3 separate regions of the Homo sapiens genome follow, and all the other regions are linked to region 1. Evidence: promoter capture Hi-C in 16 types of primary human blood cells and fetal thymus (Javierre and others, 2016). All regions are on one chromosome and are shown on one strand. Each heading gives the region's core, a stretch centred on a gene start or on the middle of the fragment in contact. The rest is flanking DNA. Distances are from core to core; before and after follow the strand shown. Region 1 holds the start of DHRSX (dehydrogenase/reductase X-linked). Region 2 overlaps DHRSX (dehydrogenase/reductase X-linked). Region 3 has its middle 290 kb from the start of DHRSX.

What was found. The method cuts DNA at HindIII sites, captures the fragments that hold promoters and counts their contacts. A CHiCAGO score of 5 or more calls a contact.
Region 2: a fragment that was not itself captured here is called in contact with the fragment with the promoter of DHRSX in region 1 in 1 of 17 cell types (neutrophils); the score reaches 8.3 in neutrophils.
Region 3: a fragment that was not itself captured here is called in contact with the fragment with the promoter of DHRSX in region 1 in 1 of 17 cell types (neutrophils); the score reaches 7.3 in neutrophils.

What each region holds. Positions count from the first base shown.
Region 1 is chrX:2,499,716-2,502,590 of GRCh38, reverse strand. It overlaps DHRSX (dehydrogenase/reductase X-linked), which reads left to right and starts at 1,615. Exons shown (of 7, transcript NM_145177.3): 1 at 1,615-1,774. The coding sequence starts at 1,666. It overlaps ZBED1 (zinc finger BED-type containing 1), which reads left to right and starts at 1,615. Exons shown (of 2, transcript NM_001171136.2): 1 at 1,615-1,774. The HindIII fragment of the contact is 4,150 bases long and covers 1-2,875 here.
Region 2 is chrX:2,237,056-2,240,006 of GRCh38, reverse strand. The region is part of intron 6 of DHRSX (dehydrogenase/reductase X-linked); the gene reads left to right. Among named protein-coding and RNA genes, the nearest start is that of DHRSX, 260 kb to the left of the region's middle. The HindIII fragment of the contact is 4,297 bases long and covers 1-2,951 here.
Region 3 is chrX:2,207,948-2,210,705 of GRCh38, reverse strand. No RefSeq gene overlaps it. Among named protein-coding and RNA genes, the nearest start is that of DHRSX, 290 kb to the left of the region's middle. The HindIII fragment of the contact is 1,958 bases long and covers 324-2,281 here.

The sequences.
Region 1 (2,875 bases), core at 366-2,865:
TGGTCTGGGGTTCCCTGAGGGAGCCCAGGTAACTCTGTGGTTGTCTGGGGTTCCCAACCAAGGTCTGAGTAGGGGTCTGCTGTCCCAGTAGGGATCAGGGTGGGGAGGGGGCTCGTGGTCCCTGAAGTAGTCTGGAGTTCTCTGCAGGGGCCGGGAAGGGGGTCTGTGATCCCTGCAGGGTTGTTGGGGGCAGGGAAGTGGAGGGGTAGGTTTGGTGGGTGGTGTCTGTGGCCTGGCAGGAATTGGGGTGGGGTCTGTGGTCTCAGTAGGAACTGGGGTGTGGGGTCCGTGCTTGGGGCAGGTTCTGTGGTGTCAGCAGGAACTGGGGTGTGGGGTCCGTGCTTGGGGCAGGTTCTGTGGTGTCAGTACGAATTAGGGTGTGGGGTCCATGGTCCTTACAGCTGTTCAGAGTCCTCTGTGGGAGTCCTGGTCCATAATCCTGGCATGGCTCTGGGTGGTTGTCTGGGGTTCCCTATGGGGTCCAAGTCCTTGTGGTCCCTGCTGAGGTCTGCGTGGGGTTACATGATTCTGGCTAAGATGGGGAGGGTGGTTCCCGTGGTGGTCCTGGTCCCCTGCAGGGTCTGGGTAGGGGATCTGTGATCCCATGGTGGGGGTCCTGGCTGGGGCTTGAATGGGGTTCCATGGTCTTGGCTGGAGTGTGGGGTCTTGGAGAGGCAGTCCAGCTGGGGTCTGTAGTCCTGGGGGGCGTCCTGGCAGGGGTCTGTGGTCTTGTGGGGTGCTGGCTGGGGCCTGTGGTCCGGGGGGTGGTTGTGATGGAGGTGGAGGTCCTAGAAGGGGGCCCCAGTAGGGGTCTGTGATCCTGGAGAGGGGTCCTGGTGGTGGGGGTCCCAGTGGAGGTCTGTGGTCCTGGGGGGCCCTGGGAGGATCTGTGGTACTGGGGAGTCCTGGTGGAGGTCTGTAGTCCTGGTGGGGTTCTTGGTGGGGTGTCTGGGCGTGCCCCAGTGGGGGGGCCTGTGGTCTTGGGGGTCCCAGCAGGGGTCTGGGGTCCTGGGGGGTGTTCTTGGGAGGAGTCTATGGATCTGACTTGGGTGCTGGCTGGGGTCTGTAGTCCTGGGGGCGTCCTGGCTGGGGCTGTTGGTCTTGTGGTGGTGGGGATCCCTGCTGGGGTCTGCAGTCCTGCCGGGAGGGGGAAGGGTCCCTGCTGGGGTCTGTGGTCCTGGAGGAGGTGTGGAGGGTCCCTGCTGGGGTCTGTGGTCCTGGGGGGGATTCCTGGCTGGGGTCTGTGGTCCTGGCTGGGGGTGTGTGTGGGGGGTCCCTGCTGGGGTCTGTGGTCCTGAAGGGGGGGTCCTGACTGGGGTCAGTGGTCCTGGGGGCGTCCTGGCTGGGGTCTGTGGTCCTGGGGGGGGGGGTCCTGGCTGAAGTCTATGGTCCTTGCAGGGGGGGGTTCCTGGCTGGAGTCTGTGGTCCTGGGGGGGGTGTCCTGGCTGGGGTCGGTTGTCCGCTCGGGGTCCCCAGTCCTGCAGGCGGTGCGGGATCCCAGAGGGCCCGGGCGGGGTCTGGGGTTGGGGGTTCCCCGCAGGCCGGGGCGGTTCGGGGCGGGCAGGGGGCGGTCCGGGGCGCGCGCGTTTCCGCCGTCCGTCCGGGCGGGCGGGCGCAGAGTCCCGCGGGCGGCGCGGAAGCGGCGGCGGCGCGGCCGGGGCAGCCATGTCGCCATTGTCTGCGGCGCGGGCGGCCCTGCGGGTCTACGCGGTAGGCGCCGCGGTGATCCTGGCGCAGCTGCTGCGGCGCTGCCGCGGGGGCTTCCTGGAGCCAGGTCAGCGGGGCGGGGCAGGGGTCAGGGCTCCGGGGACCCGGGTGGGCGCGGGCTGGCTCGGGGGCGGGGGCGCGGGGGCTCCGCGTGACCTTGGCGAGGCGGTGGCGCTCCCGGAAGTGGGGCTGGGCGGGGGTCGAGGTGTGGCCGGGGGTGGGGGGGGGGCGGCGTGCGCGCTGGGACCTCCCCGCCCCGCGCTTTCCGTCCCCGCCGGCTCTTCTGCGCGCCTGGCCCGGCCCGACCCGGCCCGACCCTTCCCTCCCCGCGCGTGTGGCCTCCCCGCCTGTCCCGGGTCGGGCTCCAACCAAGCAGCCCCCGTGCAGCCGCCCCCCCGCGCACCCTGACACCTCCGGGCCATGGCCGGGGACCCGGGGGCTCGCACGCCCCGCGCCCAAGACATCAGGCGGCTCTGCCTGCCGCCTGCGGTCGGCCAGTGACCGCGCGCCCCCGCCAGGCCCCGGAGGGGAGGAGCGGGCGTCCCAGGGACCTCGACCCCTACCCACCCCAGGGTAAGTGAGGATGGGCCCTTCTCCGGAGGACGTCTCCAGAGGGGGCCCAGAGGCGGCTTCTCGGGCACTGGGGAGCCACGGAGGTCTGGTGGGGAGGGCAGGCCCGTTAAGTGGCAACTTTGTTTCCTTGGCCTTTGTAAACATCTCTGAGTCACAGATCTCCAACTTTGCAGGACTCGTTCACTGTCTGAACTCATCAGTGATGACCGCCACTGTGTTTTGTGTATGCAGATAACTTCTGTTCCTAGATTTGCAGGTTCAGAATTTATTATTATTATTATTTTTTGTAATAGGAAGTAGAGATGAAGTCTTGCTCTGTTGCCGAGGCTACTCTCGAACTCCTGGGCTCAAGCAGTCCTCCTGCCTCAGCCTCCCAAAGTGCTGGCATTACAGGCACCAGCTACTGCATCCGACTAATGTTTTAAAGTTTTGTAGACGGGGTCTTGCTATGTTGCTCAGGCTGGTCTCGAACTCCTGGGCTCAAGCGATCTTCCTTCCTTTGCCTCCCAAACTGTTGGGATTACAGGTGTGAGCCACCACACCTGTCTAATGTTTTAATTTTTTTGTGTAGCAATAGGGTCTTGCTACGTTGCCC
Region 2 (2,951 bases), core at 376-2,875, 260 kb after region 1:
ATCCCTTATTTTGCAGTTTGCTTTCTGATCTGTTGTTCTTCACATCTCTAATTCCTCAAGCAAAGGAATTTCAAAATATTAGTTATTTTATTAAGCACTAAGTATTCGCTAGCAATACACCAACACTAGGATACATTTCATCCTTATAAAACCCCCATGAATCCCTCAGAGAGTGACTTCAGTATCCAAGGAGAGCATTTGCTGTTTTTTTATTTTATTTAATTTATTTATTTTTTTTGAGACTGAGTCTTGCTCTGTTGCCCAGGCTGGAGTGCGTTGGCGCGATCTCAGCTCACTGCAAGCTCCGCCTCCCAGGTTCATGCCGTTCTCCTGCCTCAGCCTCCCGAGTAAATGGGACCACAGGTGCCCGCCACCACGTCTGGCTAATTTTTTTTTTATTTTTTATTTTTTTTTAGTAGAGACGGGGTTTCACCATGTTGGCCAGGATGGTCTTGATCTCCTGACCTCGTGATCCACCTGCCTCGGCCTCTCAAAGTGTTGGGATTACAGGCGTGAGCCACCACGCCCGGCCTCTTTTAAATTTTTTAGAGACCAGGTCTTGCTCTGTCACCCTGGCTGCTGTGCATTTTTTTTTTTTTTTGTAGAAACGGCATCTTGCTGTTCGCCCAGGTTGGTCTTGTGCGCTGGAATTATGACACAATCACTGGCTGCAACCTTGAAATCCTGGCCTCAAGTGATTCTCCCACCTCTGCCTCCCAAAGTGCTGGGATGACAGGCATGAGCCACCATGGCTGGCCTTGACATTATTTCTTTCTAAATATTTAACAAGCAAACTGCAACTTTAGCCACATGAATCATTCTTTAATCCTTTGATCATCATCTGCAAATTTGGATTAAAAATAACCACGGGGCATTGCTCGAGTGATACTGCCTTTATATAAGAGACAACATTGTGGAAACTTTAAAATTATAGAGCAGAAGAATATGCATTAGCCTGGAAATGAAATTAAAATAATGTAAGAATTTTAAAGAAAAGGCTATACAGCTGCAGTAGCTTGATGCTGTCTTTGTAATGATAATTCTGTATTGCTGTGTATGTATTATTTACTAGTGTGTATGCATGCATGCATGCATGCATTGTATATTAAGACTTGGAAGATCAGCTGGGTGCCGTGTCTCATGCCTGTAATCCCAGCACTTTGGGAGGCCAAGGTGAGTGGATTACTTGAGGTCAGGAGTTCGAGACCAGACTGTCAAACATGGTGAAACACCATCTCTATTAAAAAAAAAAAAAATTAGCCGAGTGTGGTGGCGCGTGTGTGTCATTCCAGCTACTCGGGAGGCTGAGGCAGGGGAATCGCTTGAACCTGGGAGGCGGAGGTTGCAGTAAGCCGAGATGGCGCCATTGCACTCCAGCCTGGGTGAAAAGAGTGAAACTCCGTCTCAAAAAAAAAAAAAAGAAAGAAGAAAAACCTTGCAGGATCTGTCCAGGGTCCCTGGGGAGAATCTGTGTGACATACATATCTCTGTGATGTTTCATATCATCTGAGGGCATGGTTGTATGTCACTCTGAAACCTCTATCCTCTGTCTCATCAGAACACATGGACTCGATTCCAAATTCACGGCCAGTAACCTGGGCGACCAGTCGGTACCAGAAGAAAAACTAGGAGGTTGATTGGTTTGTTTTTGAGATGGGGTCTCGCCCTGTCACCCAGGCTGGAGTGCAGTGGTACAATCACAGCTCACAGCAGCCTCGACCTGCTGGACTGAAACGATCACCCCACCTCCACCTCCCGAGTAGCTGGGACTACACGAATGCACCAGCATGCCTGGCTAATTTTTTAAAATTTTTTGGTAGAGCCGAGGTCTTGCTATGTTGTCCAGCCGGGTCTCCAGTTCCTAGCCCCAAGCGATCCTCCTGCTGTGGCCTCCCAAAGTGTTGGGATTATGATTTGTGCATTTATAAAGATGAGAGGTTTGATTTGTCCTGTATACAAATGCATCAGGCCATTCTTCATGCTGAGACATGCAGATGGTCTCAGCCTCCGTAGGAGAGTAGCTTAGTATTTCAGAGGGCATGTGTGCTCTTCAGACCTCTAGGAAGCTCCTCGCAGCTTCATCAGTGAAACTCAGTACCCCCTACAATGTATACCCCTCCTAGGGAGCAAATGAACGTGGCTATTACCTCTCTTCCCACCCCAGTTGTCTCAAGATCAATGGGTGTTACAAAAAAGAGCTATCGGCTGGGAGTGGTGGCTCATGCCTGTAATCCCAACACTTTGGGAGGCTGAGGGGGAGGATCATGTGAGGTTAGGAGTTCAAGACCAGCCTAACCAACATGGAGAAACCCAGTCTCTACTAAAAATACAGAAATTAGCCAGGCGTGGTGGCAGTCACCTGTAATCCCAGCTACTCAGGAGGCTGAGGCAGGAGAATCGCTTGAACCCGGGGGCGGAAATTGTGGTGAGCCCAGATCATGCCACTGCACTCCAGCCTGGACGACAAGAGCGAAACTCCATCTCAAAAAAAAAAAAAAATAGAAAGCTATTGTAAATGCTGAGTGTATCAGCTCCACCATTCAGGGCTCATGTCCAGCAAGTCCTGACCACTTTGAAATCATGTGATCAGGCCTGCCATCAAAATGAACAAATTTGCAGTGTAGACTGCGCCCACTTCACCATGAAGTAGACCACTCGTATCATTGCTTGTCTTAAGCATGTATTTGTATCCGCCATGCAGTCTAATGAAAGTCTGTCTTAGGGTTGATTGGAACTTGGATTGATGTGCCGAGAGGGTGACAGGTTAATTAATCAAATCAAGGATGCAGGTACTGGGAATTTTTTTATTTTTATTTTTTTTAAGATGGAACCTCTCTCTGTTGCCCAGGCTGGAGTGCAGTGGTGCGATCTCGGCTCACTGCAACCTCCGCCTCCTGGGTTCAAGCAATTCGGCCTCATCCTCCTGGGTAGCTGGGACCTCAGCTACCTCC
Region 3 (2,758 bases), core at 53-2,552, 290 kb after region 1:
GGAACTGGGGAGGTAGCAAGTCTTGCATCAGGTGCCGTAGTTAAGCCATTGCGTCTCTATCTTTCCAACTCCTCATCTCCTCATTAGCAACGACCAGGCTAACAGCCGTCCCCTCTGCACCCAGTTTTGCTGAGAGCAAAGCAAGACTGATGCATTCTGTCAGAGCAGTGCTCAGAACTAAATAGATGCCAGCCATGGTTTGGTGGTGGGGCTCTGGTGTCATTTGTCATTGAAGCAGAAAACTCGGTTGAGGTTATGTTTTCTGCAGTTCGGGCGCCATTAACCCAGGCATCGGGGAGAATATCTGTACGTAGAAAAAAGCTTTGGAATTGTGGCCTCTGAAGCTGTCTTTGTGAAGCACCGTCTCGGATTCAGGAATAGACATTTTACTCATCATTGTGTTTATCGCTTACTTATCATTTTTAGTTACTGCTGTTTTATCCTCTTATAATTCTTTGCCTTCATTCTGGAATATGTTGTCTATTTTCTTGCCTCGACACATGCCATCTTTTTTTGTTTGTTTGTTTTCTTCCTTCTAATCGTAACAAATGTATTGTGAACTCATTTTTTTCCTGACCCCTGGGGCTGCATTTCATAGACTTAGAATGAAGTCGTTGTTTTCATTTTGCCTGATTTGACCAATGGATGAAGAGGGTATTTTAATATTTCCAAAGGTGTAGAATTAAAATTAGTGATTTTTTTTTGCCTTTTTATTTTTTATTTATTTATTTTTTTTGAGACAGAGCCTTGCTCTCTCCCTAAAGCTGGAGAGCAGTGGCACGATATCAGCTCACTGCAAGCTCCGCCTCTGGGTTCATGCCATTCTCCTGCCTCACCCTCCCGAGTAGTGGGGACTACAGGCACCTGCCACCATGCCCGGCTAATTTTTTTGTATTTTTAGTAGAGATGGGGTTTCACCGTGTTAGCCAGGATGGTCACGATCTCCTGGTTTTACAGACTTATGGTTTTATAGACTTATGTTTCTATAAATTGAAATTTCTATAAATTGAAATTTTAATCATGTTATGAAATGTAATGTATTTATCCTGTCTTTTGTAGAGAGAGTTCTGGAAATCTCTGTCACTCTCTGCTTTAGATATTTTGGGGCTGCAGTACTAGAGACCTACAGGTTCATGATTATACTGTCTTCTTGGTGTAATGCTTCTCTTATTAGTTTGTTATTTTATTATTATTACTGTAAAAGATTTAGCATCCCAGCTCCTTGGGAGGCTGAGGCAGGAGAATCGCATGAACCTGGGAGGTAGAGGTTGCGGTGGGCTGAGATCACACCACTGCACTCCAGCCTGGGCAACAAGAGCGAAACTCTGTCTCAAAAAAAAAAAAAATAGATTTAGCTTTGGTTCTTTGATGTTCTATCCTTAACTATCTTTTATCTGATATTTACCATCAGATAGTTCACAAATCCACTGACAATTAGATATTAACATCTTTTTATATCATCTCCTATTTTTAATTGACTACTGCTATCGACCGAACATTGGTGTCCTTCCAAATTCTTTTGTAGAAATTGTCACCCCCCCCCAAGGGGGTGGCGTTAGGAAGTGGAGGCTTTGGGAGGTGATGGTGTCATGAGGGTGGAGCCTAATGAGGGATGGAGCCTCATGCATGAGATTCCTGCCCTTATAAAAGGATGATGAGCTCAGAGTGAGCTCACTGTCCCACTGCCTTGTGAGCACACAGGAAAAAGGCAGCCAACTGTTCACAATAGCAAAGACTTGGAACCAACCGAAATGCCCATCAATGATAGACTGGATAAAGAAAATGTGGCACATATGCACTATGGAATACTATGCAGCCAGAAAAAAGAATGAGTTCATGTCCTTTGCAGGGACAGGGATGAAGCTGGAAACCATCATTCTCAGCAAACTAACACAAGAACAGAAAACCAAACACTGCATGTTCTCACTCATCAGTGGAAGTTGAACAATGAGAACACATGGACACAAGGAGGGGAACATCACACACCAGGGCCTGTCAGGGGGTGGGGGGATAGGGGAGGGAGAGCATTAGGAGAAATACCTAATGTAGATGACAGGTTGATGGGTGCAGCAAACCACCATGGCACGTGTATACCTACGTAACAAACCTGCACGTTCTGCACATGTACCCCAGAACTTAAAGTATAATAAAAAAAAAAATTAAAAACAAAGAAAAAGGAGGCCAAGAAGAGAGTTCTCACCAGGAACCAACCATACTGGCACCCTTGTCTCAGACCTCCAGCCTCCAGAAGTGGGATACAGGAATGTTAACAGTTTAAGCTTCCGACTCTATGGTGTTTTATCCCAGCAGCCTGAACTAACACATAAATTGTATGCAAAGATGTGTAAATTCACATGCAGTTGTAAGAGGTAGTACAGAGTCATCCCATGTACCTTTACCAACCTTCCTGCAATTAGAACATCTTGCAAAACTCCAGTAAATCGCTCAACCAGATACGGACATTGATACAATCTGACCTGCTTCTTCAGATTTTCTTTTCTTTTTTTTTTTCTTCAGATGGAGTCTCACTCCATCACCAAGCTGGAGTGTGGTGGCGAGATCTCGGCTCCCTGCAACCTCCGCTTCCCGGGTTCAAGCGATTCTCTTACCTCAGCCTGCTGAGTAGCTGGGACTACAGGTGAGCCCCACCATGCCAGGCTAATTTTCGTATTTTTAGTAGAGATGGGGTTTCACCATGTTGGCCAGGATGGTCTCGATCTCTTGACATCGTGATCCGCCTGCCTTGGCCTCCCAAAGT